2 separate regions of the Homo sapiens genome follow, and region 1 is linked to region 2. Evidence: promoter capture Hi-C in 16 types of primary human blood cells and fetal thymus (Javierre and others, 2016). All regions are on one chromosome and are shown on one strand. The core of a region is centred on a gene start or on the middle of the fragment in contact, and the rest is flanking DNA. Distances in the headings are between cores, read along the strand shown. Region 1 overlaps TSPAN2 (tetraspanin 2). Region 2 holds the start of OLFML3 (olfactomedin like 3).

The links. The method cuts DNA at HindIII sites, captures the fragments that hold promoters and counts their contacts. A CHiCAGO score of 5 or more calls a contact.
Region 1: a fragment that was not itself captured here is called in contact with the fragment with the promoter of OLFML3 in region 2 in 2 of 17 cell types (total B cells and naive B cells); the score reaches 10.6 in total B cells.

Annotation. Positions count from the first base shown.
Region 1 is chr1:115,047,737-115,053,955 of GRCh38, reverse strand. TSPAN2 (tetraspanin 2) reads left to right here. Exons shown (of 8, transcript NM_005725.6): 7 at 494-577; 8 at 3,401-5,945. The coding sequence ends at 3,466. Among named protein-coding and RNA genes, the nearest start is that of TSHB, 21 kb to the right of the region's middle. The HindIII fragment of the contact is 1,321 bases long and covers 2,180-3,500 here.
Region 2 is chr1:113,976,263-113,982,999 of GRCh38, reverse strand. It overlaps OLFML3 (olfactomedin like 3), which reads right to left and starts at 3,526. Exons shown (of 3, transcript NM_020190.5): 1 at 3,370-3,526; 2 at 2,383-2,668; 3 at 747-2,051. The coding sequence starts at 3,483. The coding sequence ends at 1,231. HIPK1 (homeodomain interacting protein kinase 1) reads right to left here. Exons shown (of 16, transcript NM_198268.3): 16 at 5,131-6,737. RefSeq lists enhancers at 949-1,781, 3,449-4,282, 5,588-6,165. The HindIII fragment of the contact is 3,076 bases long and covers 1,862-4,937 here.

The sequences.
Region 1 (6,219 bases), core at 1,591-4,090, 1.1 Mb before region 2:
TGGCTTTCCTTTGTTTAACTTGAACCTGTTAAGACTTTTTAGTTTCTTAATAGGTCATGCCTACTTTGCATAGTAAATTGGGTCAAAGACATAGAAAGTATTTTAAACTGTAAATGACAATATGAAAACAAAGAGTTATTGTTTTAAGGGTATTTTACTTATTTGCTACAAGTAAGAAGTGGCTCCAAATTTTTAGATTCCTTGGAACCAGACAAATAGCTTCCTCCAGTTATATTTCAGGGCTCCGAAGAAGCCACTGGCCTAAACATGAAAATCTCACCCAAAGGAGAGGCTTCTATTTTTTTCCCCAAACTGCATTTTTGCATTAAGCTTATTAGGATGATGTTATCAAAGATGAATTGTTGAAACATGAGTAGAAGCTGGCATGGATTAACTCTCACAGAATGAACTGTAGAGATGGAAAGGATAGGATCAGGATAATGACTGACACATACAATCAGTTTTTATTCCCGACTTTTTTTCCTCAAAACAGAATTGCATCGATGAAATTGAGACCATAATCAGTGTTAAGCTCCAGCTCATTGGAATTGTCGGTATTGGAATTGCAGGTCTGACGGTGAGAAAGTTCTAGAACTTACCCTTTTTGCCCTCTAAAAAGCCTTGAAACTTTGCATCTTATTTCTTTTCAAGTGTGATAGTATCTTAAGAGAGAATTCTCATAAAGAAAAAAGACCTTTGTTCACAATGTATTACATCTTCTAAGAACAAAGCTCATAAATATATTAATAGTTTGTCCTCTAAAATATAATAGAAATTTCAACTTTAACTCATTATGACCTTGAGTGTGTCATTGTTATTAACTTCCCGTTTTAAGGCTACTATCCATAACCTAGATAAATGATTTTCAGTTCTGGGTCTCTTTCTACTGTTACAAATTCAATGCAACATATCAGGTTAATCTCTCTCACCTACGATTTGAAGAGGCAGCAGAGCATAGAGATTAATAGGGCGAGCTCTGGCATCACATGGTTTGGATTTAACTCTAGGCTCCACCATTTGCAAGCTCTGAGATCGCAGGAAAATTTCTTAATTTTTCTATACCTCAATTTCCTCGTCTGTTAATATATAAACCTTATAGGATTGCCGTGAAAATTAAATGGGATACTACATATACAGTAGTATTACAAATTAATATAAATAAAGTGTCTGGGACATATAACACTCAACAAATGCCAGCTCTCTGCATAATCTACCAGGCAAAGGCAATGGCATAGATGGTATTAAGCGTAGTGCATCCAGACCACCACCAGGTGGCTCTGTACTTCTAAAGTACAAAAGAAGAGTGTGTGGGAAGAATGGATAGCAGCGGACAGGTATGGCAGGAGTTGCGAGAGGTGGTAATGGAGAGAGTATTCGATCTACATCATTGAGATCTTTGTATGCCCCTTTGAAAGGGTGGGCTTCACCCTTAAGGAAAGGGGAGTCACCAAGAGTTGGAAGAACCTGTGGTAGAGGATAGAGGAAAGGTTGGAGGGAGGCAAGATTGGATTTGGAAGGCGGGTTAAAGGATGATTTCCATTGTCCAGGGGTTGGATGATAATAGCTAATGCTAAGATGGCACTTAGTCTCTAGCCCTCTATGTAGATTAATTCATGGCCTAAACTAAGGCAAGGGCTGTGGGAATTGTGAGGAAATCAGTGAATTTGCAGTTATCAGGGGACACACAAGCGCCTTCCCCTTTTCTGTATTTAGAGCACAGAGGGGTGGAGAAGTGGCTGGAAATACTCTGCTGAGGCCCTCCAAATCAAGGGACATTTCTCAGGTCCTCCCCACCTGCTCTGGGGATAGCCTGGCTGCAGTTCTGCAGCTCCCCAAAGGACAGTCCTGAGGCAGGTCTGAGCGTGTGCTGCATAATGGAGAGTTTCACAATCTCAGCAAATGAGCAGCCTAGAAGCATTCACCCCTGACTCGTGTCGGCAGTAGGCTGAGACTGAAGGAGTCTCACTGAAACCAGGATGGGTAGGGATTACATCCAACCTTATGGCAATGATAAAGGGGAAATGCCCATAGTGAGCCTATCTTGAGTCGGCACCCCCAGGTTTCTTCGTTAGTTCTTTTCTCTGTAAAGTGAGAGTTGCACAATGTAATCAGCTAACTAAAAGTGCATTGGGTGTCGCCCGTGCTACACACTGGTACTGAGTCCTGTCATCCAGAAGCTTGAAATCCTGTTCCTGGCCATGCCCTTACCTGCTTCTGCCCCTCCCTTTTCAAAACAACTGATCATTCATATCTTATTGAATTTAGCACTTACAGATCCTAGTCTGACTTAGGATGGAATTGAGGAGAGAACCAGAAAGTTATAGTACCCATTTTTTAAAATAAGCATTGACAGTAGTTTATGGAATGGTGCCCACAGATAGGGTTCCATGGGCTCTACAAAATTGTAGGGGAAATAATAGCGGACAAGAAGACTCTTTGGCATTCTTCTATTCAAACCATGGAAGTGGATATTGATTTCACTCAAGTATTTAACTTCTCAGAGAACTATCCAAAAGGTAAAAGTCAATAATACCATAGTATAAACCCTTTAGTTTATGTTTTGCTAAAACTATTGAATTAAACAGTGAAGCATCGTTTGCCCTTAAAAATGGACTGAGAATGAAGTGATGCTCCACTTTTTTTTTCTTTTTTTGTGAGACAGGGTCTCTGTCACCAGGGAGTGAAGTGGTGCAATCACAGCTCACTGCAGCCTCGACCTCCTGGGCTCAATAATCCTCCCGCCTCAGCTTGCCAAGCACCTGGGACTGCAGGGACACACCACCATGCTCAGCTAATTTTTGTATTTTTTGTAGTGACAGGGTTTCACCATGTTTCCCAGGCTGGTCTAGAACTCCTGAGCTCAAGCGATCCTCCCACCACAGCCTCCCAAAGTGCTGGGATTGCAGGCATGAGCCACTGCACCCAGCTGATACTCCATTTTTGGATGTATGGACACTGTTGTAAAAAATCAGAGCTTTTCCAGCAATAGAAAATTATTTAGACCACAAGCATATCTAAACAACAAGTGGTTATGGACACAGTTTTCAAAATAAACATATAAAAGAGATCTAGGATTAACCTGAAATATAAAATTCCAAAGCCAGTATTGTGTCTGTCTTTCACAGGTATTCAGAACGGTTCTATAATTCTGAAGCAGGGTAGGTTCTTTTAAAGCAGAGCCTTGTTACTTGTTAACAATAATAATACACATTTAAACAGTTAATCTAGAATTATTTACCCCATAGCCAACCTTAAGTAACATACTAAAATGTCATTTGTGACTGGTAATTATTGGTTATAATTATTTGTTAACTTGAGTTAGACACCCAGGAAGTCTGCTGAACTTTTTACCTATCAGTACCCGTTTCAAAGTCACTGATGAGTGTTTCTTCTGTTTCAGATCTTTGGCATGATATTCAGCATGGTCCTCTGCTGTGCGATACGAAACTCACGAGATGTGATATGAAGCTACTTCTACATGAAAATTGCAATCTAAAGCTTTCATACCAAATGTCACAGGAGCTGTCTCCCAGCTCATTTTTAACACTGAAATGACATTAGGATCTAAAATAATTTGCTGTCAATTGTACATTTGCATGAGTACGTATGTTTGGCTCATTACTGGTTTACCCCTTGAGTGAATGCCTGTTTATGATGACTGAGAGCATATTCATGTGTGATCTGCGTGTTTCTGGAATATGCTTTATACGTAATGAAATCTGTTTGCTGGGAATTCCTGATTCTTGTTATATAAGAAGAACAACCTATTTCGCTCCCAGAAAAAAAAGATCAAAGAGCTTTCAGAAACTTTGAGAACTTGGCTATTTAGAAAAAGTGATAATGGGTCAGTTTCTCAGACTGTAGCCATTGAAAATTAGATGCAGAGAATTCAGAGATTTCTTCTTAATGGAAGTAATAAGCTGTAAGAATTGAGAGATCACAATGGAGTGTTAAAACTGACTGTGTCTAAGTTGGGTGTAAGGGTTTCCTGGGTTTTTTTATATACATGCTCTCCCCAGAATACAGTAAACCACAGTTTTAGAACTAAACACATCTGTAAAACTAAATATAGCATGGAAAATCCAATTTGAATAAGTCATGCTTTCCTAGAATTTAAAAATAAAAAAGTCTTCCTCTGGAAAGAGAAGTCACACAGACAATCATGTGCCCTATAAAAGTGAGTGTTTATAGGACTAAAAAACTTTTAACAACTTTTTAAGGAAATATTTTTGTTCTTATACAAAAACATGTAAATATTGCTTTATTACTTTCATTTTCTGACCCTGCTGTAAACTACTGCAACCCTCACATCCTCAAAGGGACTTTTATGTCAAACTCTTCTGTTTCTCCAAATATAAGGAAAAAAGACTAAAGCAAGAGATCTGGCAGTTGAAAATTGTGGGAAAGAGAATTTGTATGGGCACTGTATCTATGAAATACCTCATAACTTACGTTTACATGTTTTCCTAACTTTTTGTATTTTTCTTGTATAGCCACCTAGAGAATTCTTCATAGATTAAGAACTACAGTTTTCACCACTTAACATAAGTAAAACAAAGTCCTTCATAATTTAACCATTAGCATCTTTGGCCAAACCAAAATAAAGAAAAGCATCTTCTCCTAGTTGTGTGTGGGCAACAGAAACAAGTTAAGGAAACAAAAATACTTATATATACACAGAACAAAAATAATGTTCTTTTTATGCAAATCCCCTGTGAAAATAAAATTTTCAATGTTTTTTTGGTCTTAACGCTTCATTTTAACTTAGTAAACCCAAATTTAGGATTTACATTGGCAAATTTTTCAGTGATTTTTAACGTGTTACATTTAGTAAACCATAGATTTTTTAAAAACTACATTTTGTAAGGCCACACATAAGTGAAAATACGGAAGGCTTTGGAAACCCCCAGATGAACTTCTATACATGTGAAAACACAAGTCTTTGAGTGTGCACTAAAAGTGTCACACTCCCAAAAAACTCACAAAACATTTTGCTAAAAAGATATGACTGCTTGAAATAGTCTCTCTCCCATGGAGAACCACATTTCTCTTTCTGCCATACTTGCTACTGCTACTGATTTTGGAGGAAATTTTTCTAGAAGAACAAAGGTCATATTTGAGGCAAGCTAAAAACTTAATTATACATGGCTACTTTACTGTGTCTGTAGCTAAAGAAAAATTATTTTACAAAAATTACTTCATGAAATATAGTTTGTACCCCAGTAGTTGAGAAATGTGACCTTTTAGGCAAAGAACAGGCAGTCCATCTCTCTTAGCTTTAGTTTATCTCTCTGCCTGAAGACAGGAAACAGGCCCAAGTGCATACTCGGGTTCTTTCCAACTCAGAATCATCTCTGATTCCACAAAAGTGAGTTTAGTTTCCTATCTGAATTAACAACTTTAAAGGAGACTATAATAGTTAAAAGTGGAAGAATAGAAATAAATAAATTTAAAATGAAATTAATTAAAGTAGAAGAGAAGGGTTCTGTTCCATGTACGATTAATGTGCCCCTTTTGGAGATAAGCTTTCCAAAATATGCGTATGAGTAAAATTAGAGAATTCCACCACTAAGCAACAATAGATTTTATATGTGTGTGTGGATATATATACACACACACACAGAAAGATGAATATATATATATATATATCTGTATAGACACACATATAATATATATAGATATATAATCCCTATATATCTTGAATCTACAAATATCTTTATATGTATATAATTTGAATATATACATGTATGTATATACAGATGTGTGTGTATATATATATATACATACACATATACATAAATTTTCAGCTATTTCTGTTCCCCTGAACTAATTTGAGATTAGACCCAAACATGCTTTTAAATGTCTCATGCCAAGGCACTGAATTAAGACTTCTTAATGTTGAAATATTTTAAGTGATTTCATATTAAATTTTCTATATACTGAAATTGCTTGTTTGATTTATCTTAAAGTCCTATTATATCTTTCTACAAACCTTCACGCAACTTATCTAAATGTCAAACTACCAATCAAATAATGTGATTAAAAAAAAACAGAGTGGTAACCCTTCTATAATTTGCTATTGGTAGTTGACTTAAAAGCAACACCCTAAGGACTCTTACTGCATATACAGTCATCTGTCAGTATTCATAGAAGAATGGTTCCAGGACCCCCTGTGGATACCAAAATCCACAGATGTCCAAGTCCCTTGTATAAAATTGT
Region 2 (6,737 bases), core at 2,277-4,776:
CAACGCCAGAGGCCAGGGTATGGGCCAGAGAGGGTTAAGTTTCCAGAAGTCCTGACGGGCTTCAGCCAGGTTCAGGGCTGGAGTGGGTAGGTGAGGGTGATGAGAGTGGAGAAAAGGAAAGCAAGAATAGGCTGCAGACCGTGTAAGGCCAACATCTGGGACACGGTCACTGCCCCTCCTCCCTGCACAAACCGCAGACGCCGTGGCAGCAGGAAAATCAGAGCGGTCCAGACCAAGAATGATTGTGCAACCTGGCCCTGCAGGAGCACAACGCTGGAGGTGGGAGTGGAGGTCTGGGGTGCGGGGCAGAGTCCACTTTAGAGGGGAGACTTCAGTTCTTACTAAAAACACAGGCATTCAGGGCTCTGGTTTCCACACTAGAATGCAATGCAACTAACATGCATTTTGTAGTTCAAAATCCTCTGAGAATCGGAACTGGAATCTCTGCCCTGGGCCCCAGTGTCTCACAGCCAGAGGCACGGTGCCACTGAGGTTCTAGGATGGCTGCTGTGGATTGGCTGCTGTGGATGGCGGTGGGTGTGGAAGGAGGCCTTTCGTCCAGCCTCCTAAAGTGGCGGGATTCTGCCACCTCCCCCAGGCGCCTCACAGTAAACTCTTCCTCAGCAAAGGGAGCCCCGCCCAAGTCTTTAATATGGCTCAAGGAGTGGGGATGGGTTGGGAGGGAGAAACTGGATGGTCAGGGGGAAGTTTGATCTGAGGGCTACCCCAAACAAACACAGGAGAGGAGCAGTGGATTTTCCTTTTAATGCAAAATGTTGCAATACAAAACAATGTGGAGAAAGTCCTGTTCCTCAGGACACTGAAGGGAGGAGTGAGGAAGAGAGGACAGAGCTGGACGTCTCCTCCTATTTCTCCCTCCCCAAGTCACTCTGAGGGGAAGAACACTGCTGCCTGCTCCCTGGGCCTGCCCGCATACAAGGTTAGAGCCCTGGGTCTGGGGCATCCTTAGCCTGAAATTTGTTGACATGGGGCAGGAGAGCAGGAGGGAACATTGAGGGTTTTGACTCTTCGGGCTCTAAAAGGATTACTCAGGATCTGGAGTTCCGTATGAAACAAAGGAGCTGAAAGAATTTGATTGCCATTGGCTAAAAATATAGAGGATTTGAGCCACAACTGGCCCACATTTGAAGAATGAGGAACAAGAAATTTAGTGGGGATATAATATAAATGTATGGGAGTGAGAAAGATGCAAAAAACAAGGCTAGCTCCTCAAACCTCCTCCTCTTTCTTCCTCATCTCCAGCTTATAGACAATCTGGTAGCCATCATCCCAGGCATAGAGCTGGCGTTCTCGGGGGTTATAGCGGAGGCTGGCATGGGCACCATATCTGCGGGGAAAATAAGGGAGTGCTGCCCGTTCAGGGGTCAGGGTGCCGCTGGCATCAAAGGAGCACTGGATGCGGGCCCGACTGGCAGGACGGGTGTTATAGACGACATAGAGGGTCCCACAGATGACAAAGGCAGCCTCAGCATTCTCTCTGGGACATGGTGTGTCCCACTGCTGCTCTGTGTCCAGTGTCTGTGGATCTAACTTGGCCAGACACAAGTGCCTGTCATCCTCCCGGGTGGCATAGACAGCCCAAAGACCTTCCTCATCAGCTGCCAGGTCGATGTAGGTGTCTGCTGTCAAGCCGTAGGGGGGGATCAGCCCCTCTGCTGGGAATACTGAGCTGTCCACCACTGTTCGGTTTGCCAGGTGGAATTTGATTAGCTGCAAAGTGTTCTCCATCTCACCACCTCCACCAGGTCTTCCAGGAGGCCTCCGAGCAAAATAAAGAAAGCCACCATATACCAGCTGCCCTGTGCCTACCCAGGGGAAGGGCACCCGGACTCGGGAAGCTTTCCGGGCAGCCATGGCAAGGGTGAAGTCACGCAGCCTTGGGAAGACAAAGGCTGTGTCATTCTGTGTCCCATCTAACACGTAGATCTTCTCTGTTTGCCCCAGTGGATCCTTGGTCCATAGACCAGCTGGGCCACCAAATCGCTTCAGAATCTTCATTGATCTCACTTGAGAGATTGTGTAGCCACAGTCTGATGAGAAAAGCACAGGAAAAGGAAATAGAGGCAAGAATTAGATGCCTCCAGCAGGAACTCCCCCAGGGTGGGTGATCTGGAGAATAGTGAGCATTTGCCCAGTGGTTGCCTCCAATCTTAGGGAGAATTGAGAAAGAGCGGGTACCACAGCGGCCTGGATCCCCAGAACCTCTCCTTAATAGACCTGGCATTACAGAGGTTTCCCTAAAACAGATTCCAGAAGACAGAGCCACAATGGACTGGGACAAAGCGAAAAAAAGAGTAAGAAGCAAGGAAGGAAGAATATCGGTTCTGAGAAGAGTTAGGGGCCTGCTTTCAGATTATTTACCTGTCACCATATCGTACTTCTCATTCCTTCTTCCCTTGCCTTTGGTCCCAGGGCCTCCAGTCACCTTCTCATCAAACTCTACACAGGGCAGAGCTGGGTTCTGGGTCTCCAGATAGTCTACCTCCCGCTCCAGACGATCCACTCTCCCGGAGATGGTGTCGGCCTCAGTTCTGAGTGCCTCCCGCTCCTTCTCTGCCACCTCCAGCAGTGGCAGCATCTTGTTCTTGAAGTCCCGCAGCTCAGCAGCATGCCGACTACTCTGGTCCTGGCACTGGGCCAGCCGTTCCTGAAGGGATGGGGGATCAGGAGGGAGGCTGCAGGGTTACAACTCCCAGGCAGGGAGAGGCCCAACTCGGGAGTCAGGAATGGGAAAAAAAGAGCAAACTCAGCCAGGCTTCAATATCCCCTTCCACTCCTGCAGAAAAGGAAACCAGATGTGCAGAGGTGCTAAATGTGCAAAGAGCCTAGCTGAGATTCACCTAGGCCCCTACCCCGACTCCATGTCCTCCAGCCTGTGTTCTCTGTGAGCAGTGCCACTGAGCCATCTGAGCCTCTAGGCAGGTCTAAGCGCATGAAGGTGTGAAGAGGTCTCTGCTCCCTTAGCAATTATCCTCTCGGACACTAAAATGCTACGGATCTCAACCTGTTAAAAAGACAGGAAGTTATAGATTCCCCGGGAACCTCCAACTTCAACAGAATCATCACCTTCTCTGGAGATGCAGCCCCACAATTTTGGCTCTCGTTTCCACTCTGCCCCCTTATTCTATCTAATCCCAGAGGTAAAACGCAAAAGTCGATTTGCTTTGGAATTGTTCTATGTGGGGTAAGAGGAGGGCTTGTCATTCCGAAGGTCCTCTTATTAAGAGAGAATTTTCTGTAGACTCTAACAGAGCCCTTTCTTGTTATCCCCAGATCCCTAACAAACTGGTTGAACCAATAGCCCTGGAATCCTTCTAGGCGGGGCTAGAAGAGAAAGGGGTCCCTCACCTCTAAAGCAGCTAGTCGGCGTTCCATGTACTCCACAAGGTGGTGCTGCTGTCCTTGGAGGGGTCCCGACCATGACAAAAGGAACAAGATGAGGAGAGGGGTGCTGGGCCCCATGGCAGCCTGGAGAGTGGTGCCAGAGTAGAAGGAACGTACAGTCAGCCTCTTCCCCTCAAGCCCGAGGGTTAGCTTTGGAGGCGGGGTGGGGGCGGTGCCTTCTCTCCTGATCTCTGGGTCTCTCTCACTACTCTGGAATGCTTTCAGTTCTCTTTACAACCCCCACCCCCTCCTTTCCGCCAGGATTGATCAAACACAGATGGCCCCATTGCACAGCAGCCAGAAGCCTTAACCACCTCCCGCCTAGGCTGTAGGGTCCTCTGGAGGGGAAAGAGATGGAAACCCGAAAGCAGAGGCCTTCTAGGCAGTCAAGCAGGGAAGCTAGCTGCAGAAAGCAGAGACCCCAGAGAAAACTCAGCAAACGCCATTCCTGTTTTAGGAAAGTTTCACCAGTGCTGACTTAAGAAACTGACATTTTTCATTAATCTTTCCCTTTCCCTGCAATAGAGTGGGTTTTCAGCCTTGTTCAGTAGAAGCTGGGAGCTGGGGAGGTGAGGCTTGAAGGGAGGAAGCAGGAAAACAATGGCCCAAGTGGTCAAGCCCAACTTATTCTAAAGCTCATTGGCGCCACCTTGTGCTAAGCAGCTGGTGTCATCTCTCATGATAATACAGAAACTAAGGCTTAGACTTCACCCCATGAGGAAAATTTTCCACAAAAGCCAAATATATTGAATTTACAGGGGTTTTCACCACTGAAATGCATATTTCCCCCAAGACTATCCAATTACTACTTTGGGGGCTATGCAAATATCTGATTTAGCCCAAGGAAGAAAATATAACTGAGATTAAAAAAAAAAAAAAAACAGGTCACTGAGAAGTTAGTAAATTAACTCGATCGTCTGGAAGTTAAGGCTGACAGCAGCGCTGTTTTACATGGCTTTCCTTTGCTTGAAAGAGGCCAGATATAGTCTCTCACCAAAACTGAGGAGTGTTCAGTGAGTTCACACTAATTTACTATACATTCATGTATTGCGGGGGGGCGGAATCTGATATATATATATATGTTGTTGCAGTCTAGATCAATGTATTCTGACTTCCTTACCACTGGGAGAAAAGACTATTGGTTATTTCTCTTGGTTGTGGTCCAAAAGGGTATTTCTGAGTGTTTCTCATTTCTATATCCCAACTAAGGCTGCAGGAGCCCAAAATGAATTAATGGCCACCATAAGGTAGACTTGGGCCATAAGGTAGACACACGGGCCGAAAAAAAAAATCAAATAGAGCATTTACTCAGAGACCTGCAGTCATTAATCGAAACAAACCCCTATTTCTTTATCGGGAGAAATTCTATTCACTTTAGAATCAACAGAATCTGATGAGAGGTTCCTTCTGTAAAAAGGACCATGACTCTAACAGTACAGTTTGAAAGGAGGGGAAAAATAGCAGCTTCCTGTGGTTACTCATCTTTTCATTCTGCTACTGCTATCTGGCAAAACATATGAGGAAACAAAGCTTAATTAGCCGGTCTCAGAAGTCTTCTACCTCTTTCAAAGGGTCAGATCCAGATGATGTGAAGTAAGGACCCTGGACACTGCATTCTTGGGAAGTATTCCCTGCCAAACCCTATTCATTTCCAGTATGGAGATTTGTGTGAAGAATGAAATTGTCTCTAGTACTCTACTGATGTTCAAATACAATATGCTTAGCCACTTTCAAAGATGTCATTTATTGATCCCCTTTATATCCTATAACAGAAGTCAAAAACAGCCACATAAGTCAGAAAATTTACCCATTTTATTGATGCATTGCAATTGCTCTACATTTTACCATATTATGTAGAAAATACTGAAAATACAAGCTACTTTGTAAAACCAAAGACAAACATTGAATCCAAAGATAAACTATGTTTTACACAATGGACCCTTTTCCCATAGTTAGTATTAAATTTTAAATATCTATTTCTTTTGTTAAAATGATTATTTTACATACTCCCTAAGTACATCTGCATTACAAACATAGCTCAGTAATTCTCAGAAACTATCTGTTTCTAGAGGCTTGTTGTAAAAGAAAGCGCACAACCAAAAAAAGGGAGAAAGCAAAAAAAGTTTAAATCGCACACAATAACTAGCATATCAAATACATTTAATAAAGTAGGAATTCCATTGCAATATCAAGGATTCAAAGCAGAAATACTAACATTACATATAATGTACATATAATGTACTGCTACATGTAGTGAGATTATTTTTCAAGCTGAATTGAAACCACACATTATATAAAGTTTAGCAACAAACAACCATGTAGACATGCTGCACCATCTATCAGTTAAAAAAAAAAAAAATCAAAATAGGAAGCAGGCTCGGGCCACTCCTGTCACTGAGAGGCAATTTCATTTCCTATCCTAAAACAAACCATCTCAACTAGTGAATTTTTGCATAATAATGCTGAACAAAACACACATTACTGTGCTTGCCTGGCTAAGGGCAGTCAAGCTTAGCCCCTCTAGTGGAGGACAATGGATGAGCAATCACAAAAGCAGGCTCAGAATGGCCAGAACTGTTTGAAATGGAGTTCTTATTCCTGGGGTTGGTATTTCAGCTGAGCACTGAAAATAATATCACCTCCTGGGAGCTATTAAAAACTCTGGAGTGACCAAGTGTCCCTATGAGCCCAGAGTGGCTACACTGAACCCTTCTCCGCTTCTTCTCTCACCCGGAAAGGAAGAAGTTGGAAATGCCAAGTTCTGAGAGAGGACTTAAAGCCTTAAGCTGGTTTGAGGTCAGGTCACTGTGACCCAGGCCAGCTGCTCACTAAATTCACCAGGCTTCCTCCCTTCCTGTCAGGGCCAACAGGGCTAACCCCAGGGACAGAATCTAAAGCCACAGTGAGCACATACATACACATTCAGCAGACACAGGTGGATTTTTATGCTGGAAAATCGGAAATGCCAGTTTGCAGACTAAGACTGAAAAATCTCTAGTTTTTAAAGCCACACACTGCTAGGCAAGTGACTAAGGTAACAATACAAGCTCTTGGTATTATCCTTTTCTGTGGAGTTTAGACTCCTATCTTAAGTGGTATCTGCTTATTGGACTGGGGTGCAGGAATGGGATTTGGTTTTCTTTCCTGCATCTCATTTCTTACAAAAACAACAAATCTTGTCCCTTACAGAAAAAAGACAAGGAACAAAAAATTTGTCCTTTAGAAACTAGACCTGTGTTCCAACAAGAAAATCAGAATGTGCTTGGCAAAAAGGAGACACAAAGATCACACATGTTGACCAGAAAACTGTATGACACTAGTGACAGAAATTA